2 separate regions of the Homo sapiens genome follow, and region 2 is linked to region 1. The links are contacts of gene promoters, found by promoter capture Hi-C in human tissues and cell types (Jung and others, 2019). All regions are on one chromosome and are shown on one strand. Each heading gives the region's core, a stretch centred on a gene start or on the middle of the fragment in contact. The rest is flanking DNA. Distances are from core to core; before and after follow the strand shown. Region 1 holds the start of TAF1C (TATA-box binding protein associated factor, RNA polymerase I subunit C). Region 2 overlaps ATP2C2 (ATPase secretory pathway Ca2+ transporting 2).

The links. The method cuts DNA at HindIII sites, captures the fragments that hold promoters and counts their contacts. A contact is called where the count stands out against the background at its distance.
Region 2: a contact is called between a fragment that was not itself captured here and the fragment with the promoter of TAF1C in region 1, in 1 of the 25 tissues and cell types used here (dorsolateral prefrontal cortex).

Annotation. Positions count from the first base shown.
Region 1 is chr16:84,185,716-84,188,628 of GRCh38, forward strand. TAF1C (TATA-box binding protein associated factor, RNA polymerase I subunit C) reads right to left here and starts at 1,342. Exons shown (of 15, transcript NM_001243156.2): 1 at 1,186-1,342. RefSeq lists an enhancer at 1,182-1,682 and a silencer at 1,328-1,537. The HindIII fragment of the contact is 11,118 bases long and covers 1-2,913 here.
Region 2 is chr16:84,404,925-84,407,844 of GRCh38, forward strand. ATP2C2 (ATPase secretory pathway Ca2+ transporting 2) reads left to right here. Exons shown (of 27, transcript NM_014861.4): 3 at 204-320. Among named protein-coding and RNA genes, the nearest start is that of ATP2C2, 38 kb to the left of the region's middle. The HindIII fragment of the contact is 6,364 bases long and covers 1-2,920 here.

The DNA.
Region 1 (2,913 bases), core at 92-2,591:
TGTGGAGAAACCCGGTCTCTACTAAAAATACAAAATTAGCCGGGCGTGGTGACGCATGCCTGTAATCCCAGCTACTCGGGAGGCTGAGGCAGGAGAATTCCTTGAAGCCGGGAGGCGGAGGTTGCGGTGAGCTGAGATCGCGCCATTGCACTGTAGCCTGGGCAACAAGAGCGAAACTCCATCTCAAGAAAAAAAAAAATTACATCACAAGGCTTTGGTAAATACAGTCCTCTAGAAGTATGAGCAGCCATAGCATCCCTCCTTTTTAATTAACAAAAATAACAGGGGCAAAAATAACAGCAGCGCTCGCTGACCAAGCGCCAGCATCTATCTGCCAGGCACATGCTAAATGCTGCACTCTTCTATCGCCGTCCCTGTTAACAGAGTTCAGGAAACGAAGGCTCAGCAAGAACTTTAGTCCAACAGCTCTTAGCTGCCACAGCCAAGACTTGATTCCCATCCGATTCAGAGGCAGAGCTCCGAACCAGTGCTCTCGCATGCACCGAAATGCAAACGCTAGCATTAGAGTCTCGCTATACAAAAATCTTTTCCCTTTGGCCGGGTGCGGTGGCTCCCGCCTGCAATCCCAGCACTTTGGGAGGCCAAGGCGGGCGGATCACCTGAGGCCAGAAGTTTGAGACCAGTCCGGCCAATACAGTGAAACCCTGTCAATACTAAAAATACAAAAATTAGCCGGGCGTGGTGGTGTACACCTGTAATCGCAACTACCGAGGAGGCTGGGCACGAAAATCGCTTGAATCTGGGAGGCAGAGGTTGCAGTGAGCCAAGATCATGCCACAGCACTCCAGCCTGGGTGACAGAGCAAGGTTCTATCTCAAAAATAAAATAGAAACAAAAATATTTTCTCTTGGAACCGCATAGCCTGAAACGATCCTAGACAGGCGGAGGGCGCTGGTGGAGAGCACGACCCCACAAAAGCCCTCAGACAAGGCAGCCTCGACTTCCCCGGCCGGCTTCCCGCCCTCGCTGCGGGCTCTCCAGGACCCTTTAGACCTCCAAGGCTACAGAACTCAGTCGGATCCGCAATAACGACAGGCCGGGGACTGCGAAACGTGAGCCTGCCGCGGGGACTGGGGATTGGGGGCGTCCCTCCCCTCCTACATCTGCGGGTCCGCTCCTCGAACACGCGCAGTCCGCGCGGAGGGGGCGCATGCGTGCACTTACGTGACCCCGGCCTCGTCGTGGTCGTCTGGAAAATGGGCCTCGGCGTGATGCTCGCCGGACCCTGGCACCACGAGGGAAATCTCAAGTAGAACCCCAGCTTTGGCACTCGGGACGGGTCAGCCCCGCCGCAGCTACCCACGGTCTTCCGGTTTGGACCGGAAGTGCCTCCTGCGGAGGCAGGAAGTCCCGCCTCCCAGCCAGGCCTCTTAGGGTCCTGGCGCGCCCCCTCCCGGGAGGAGAGGGAACGGGCGTGCAGGCGGCGCGTGGGCAGCGGAAATAAAGCTCCCTTGAGTCCCAATAGTGGAGGCCGGGTGGACTTAGGTTCGAATCCCACATCTACTTCACCAATTTCCTCAGAGTTGTATTAAATTAATCATTTAACGAACTCCCACAGAACACCTACTATAAGCCAGACCTGTATTGGTCAGTAGGTATCCTACTGATTGTCCTTAAATCCCAAGAAGCGGGCTTTACAAATAAGGGTACAAATACCTACTAAGAGTGAAGCTTTTCCAGGGGTGGTCAGGCAGGGAGAGCTTTAGGCAGTGGTCTTCAAACTCTAGCTAGCGTGCGTCAGCAGTAGCACCTGGGGGGCTAGTTAAAACACAGTCTCCAATTCGGTGAGTCTGGGGTGGGACCTGATGATTTGCCTAAGTTCCCAGGTGATGCTGAAACTGCTTATCTGGGGGCCATGCTTTAAGAACCACTGTCCAGTCATGAACCTTACCGTTATCCTAACATAGTACTTCTCAAACTTCAGTGAGCCTTAGAACCACCTGGGGGGCTTGTTACAAGTTTGCTAGGCTCCACCCTACCTCTGCCCCCCGAGTTGCTGATTCAGTAGATCTGGGATGTGGCCCAAGAGTCTGCATTTCTAGCAAGTTCCCAGATGATGCTGGTCCAGGGGCCATACTTTGAGAACCGTTGCTTTAAAGAATCAATTTCCAAATTCTCAGCTGTCATCTATGTCTTTATTTATTTTTTTGAGATGGAGGCTAGAGTGCAGTGGCACGATCTTGGCACACTGCAACCTCCGCCTCTTGGGTTCAAGCAATTCTTCTGCCTCAGCCTCCCGAGTAGCTGGGATTACAGGCCTGCGCCACCATGCCCGGCTAATTTTTGTATTTTTAGTAGAGACGGGGTTTCACCATGTTGGTCAGGCTGAGTCTTGAACTCCTGACCTCAAGTGATCCGCCTGCCTAGGCCTCCCAAATTGCTGGGATTACAGGATGAGCCACCACGCCTGGCCTATATTGTTTTTATCTGGAAGTTTTTACCTGGACTAAAAGTGCCAGCAGGGCTGTGTTCCTTTTGAGAGGCTCTAAGGAAGAGTCCACTATCTTGTCTTTTCTGGCTTCTGGAAGCTGCCTGCATTCCTTGGCTCATGACCCCTTTCCATCTTCAAAGCCAGCAATGCCAGTCGGATTCTTCTCATGAGGCCATCTCTCTGGTTTTTACTCTTCTGTCTCCCTCTTTCCCATGTAAGGACCCATGTGATTATAGTAGGCCCGCCCAGGTAATCCAGGATAATCTCCCTATTTTATTTGTTTTATTTATTTTTTTGAGACAGGGTCTCACTCTGTCGCCCAGGCTAGGGTGCAGTGGTACCATCATGGCTCATTGCAGCCTCAACTTCCCAGGCTGAGATGATTCTCCCACCTCAGTCTCTCGAGTAGCTGGGATTACATGCAAGCACCACCATGCCTGGCTAATTTTCTTTTTTTTTTT
Region 2 (2,920 bases), core at 301-2,800, 220 kb after region 1:
TAATGGTCACTGGCTTGTGCCTTTTCCTCCTCTCTCTGCCCCATCTGCACGGGGTCTTTGAACAAGTCCCAGCACCTTGGTGGACAAGCCTGTGTCCCTGGCCCATCATGGAAGCCGCTGCCTTTCAGAGTGGGAGTCTGTACCCTGTTGCCTCATTCCTTGCTGCGCCCATGAGTGAGCTTGTGCCTGACCTCTCCTTCCAGGTGGACTTACACACTGGGCTGTCGGAGTTCTCGGTGACGCAGCGCCGGCTGGCCCATGGCTGGAATGAGTTTGTTGCTGACAACAGCGAACCTGTGTGGAAGAAATACCTGGATCAGGTAGGACCAGAGGTGTCATTCTTTGCATTAACATGCATAAGCCAGCGAGGGTGGGGCAGCCATTCCATCTTTCAATGTTGATGGAAGGCATCCTTGGACAGCTCCCGCCCCTTTCACGCTGCCCCAGCCAGCCTGAGCATCAGTCATGAGCAAATCACCAACTCCCAGGCAACCGCGATCAGGAAAAACAGTGATCACTTTCGTAGACAGTTGAGCAGGCCCCGGGCCCCACGCTATATGAGTAAGTGAATAAGTAAGCATGCGCTTACTAATCCTCCTCCTAATCCCGCCTTTGCACATGAGGAAGGAGAAGTGCAGAGGTTGAAAGATTTCCCCAGAGTTGCCAGGTTTAGCAAATAACAATATAGGATGCCCTGTTAAATTTCAATTTCAGGCTGGGCGTGGTGGCTCGTGCCTGTAATCCAAGCACTTTGGGCGGCTGAAGCGGGTGGATCACTTGAGCCCAGGAGTTCAAGACCAGCCCGGCCAACATGGCGAAACCCCGTCTCTTCTAAAAATATAAAAATTAGCCGGATGTGGTAGTGGATGCCTGTAATCCCAGCTACTGAGGAGGCTGAGGTGGGAGGATTGTTGGAACCCAGGAGGTGGAGGCTGCAGTGAACTGAGATTGTGCCACTGTGCTCCAGCCTGGACAACAGAGTGAGACCTTGTCTCCACAACAACAACAAAACCAAAGTGAATTTCAGATAGATAAACAAGAAGCAATTTCTAGTATAAGTGTGTCCCAATACAGTGGACGTGCTTATACTAAAAACAAAAAGTTCCTTGTTTTTCTGAAATTTAGATTTTACTGGGTGTCCTACTGTAACCTGAGCCCAAAGTCACATAGCTGTGAGGAGCAGTGCAGAGCAGTGCAGCCAGGGAGCTGCACCCAGAGCCCCTTCCCTTGCTAGCTGCTGCCATCGGTGCTGGCGCGGTGCTGAATGAATGGCACACAATCAAATGCCTGGAAGCCACTAAGAAGGGGAAAGAAAAAACTGCAATTGACATGGCTCCAAGTTCCATTCTAGAAGTCGGCAGTCCCTGCCACCTTTGCAGGACCAGTTCAGAAAGGCTCAGTGAACAGGCAGAATTTTCCAGGTGCCTGAGGGCATTTAGATGGCCTTAGATCCCCTTTTCCAGCCTTTTGCATGCTCTTGGCCCCATCCCTGACATCCCCTTCTTCATTCTCTGGCCCCTGGGCTGCCCCAGGCTTCAACCGCCTTCCTATTGGCTCTGTGTTTACAGCTTCCTCCATTGGTCGATTCCGGAACCAATCACAGTCCCCTGGGCAGCATCCTCTGTCTCCACTCTCCTTGAGGTCCCCTCCCTGATCAAGGCTCAGTTCTCAGTGTTCTGGGAATGTTATTCATCGATGCGTTTTGGCAGCAAAATAGGCTTCTGGGTATGTAGGTGGTTCTGGCTAGCCCAGAAGCTTCCTAAAACTGCAGGGCTGAGAAGAGGCAGTGGAGGCTCCCGGAAGTTGGGGTTCAGGGAAGGAGGCCGAGACATGGGCTGTGAGGGAGGAGCTCCCCTCTGCGGCTGGAGATCTCTTTGCTCTGCCCTGGCACCCCTTCCACTAGGACCCGCTCCCCCACTTCCCCTGGTTATCCTCCTTCCTCGTTCCCCTCTGCTCTGTCGAAACCCACCGTGAACATCTTCCTTCTCACCAAGGATCCTCCTCCAGCCTCCAGCCAGGGTGTTCCCCAAAATGAAATCTCTTAAATTTCTTGAGAGCAGAGGACCTGCTCATTCATCTTATAGCTTGTCGGTTCAGCAATGCATCTGTGGGAATCCTTGTAGGACTGGACGGGAGCTCCTGACGGCTGGGTTTTCCTGCCCTTGCGTATACGGGTTCTGTCTGCTCTCCCTTATTAATTCCTTACATGTGTTGAGTTCCTCCTGCATGCCAAGTGTTGTGATTCTCCTATCTTTCCCCCAGTGACAGGGAACTCATCACCTCACAAGGCAGCCCTGTTCCTCTGTCTCAGGAGTCTCACCATTAGGAATTCTACCTTAGCACGGCGTAAGGCTCTGGACGGGATGGCAGGGAGGCACTAGGCTGGTGCTCTGAGGAGGTGGCATCTGGGCAGAGATCTGAGTGAAATGAGACGGAAAGCCATGTGAGGATGTGGATGGAGGGCGTCGCTGGAGGGCAGGGTGCAGAGTCCCTGAGGGGACAGGAGCCTGGCAGCCTGGGAATCAAGGTGCCCAGACCAGGTGCATTATTATTATTGTTATATTCTGGGATAGGGTTTCTCTGGTGTCCAAGCAGGAGTGCAGCGGCATAAACACGGCTGACTGCAGCCTCAACTTCCCAGGCCCCAGTGATCCTCCTGCCTTAGCCTTCTGAGTAGTTGGGACCACAGGTGCACCTCACCATGCCCAGCTCATTTTTTCATTTTTTTGTAAAGATGGGATTTTGCTGTGTTTCCCAGGCTGGACTGAAACTCCTGGGCTCAAGCAGTCCTCCCATTTCTGCCTCCCAAAGGGCTGGGATTACAGTGTGAGCCTCTGCACCCAGCCCTTGTTGATATTGTAACTCTCTTCCTTATCCTGATCTTTGGTCTGCCTTCTGAATCCGGTTTTATGTGTTTGCA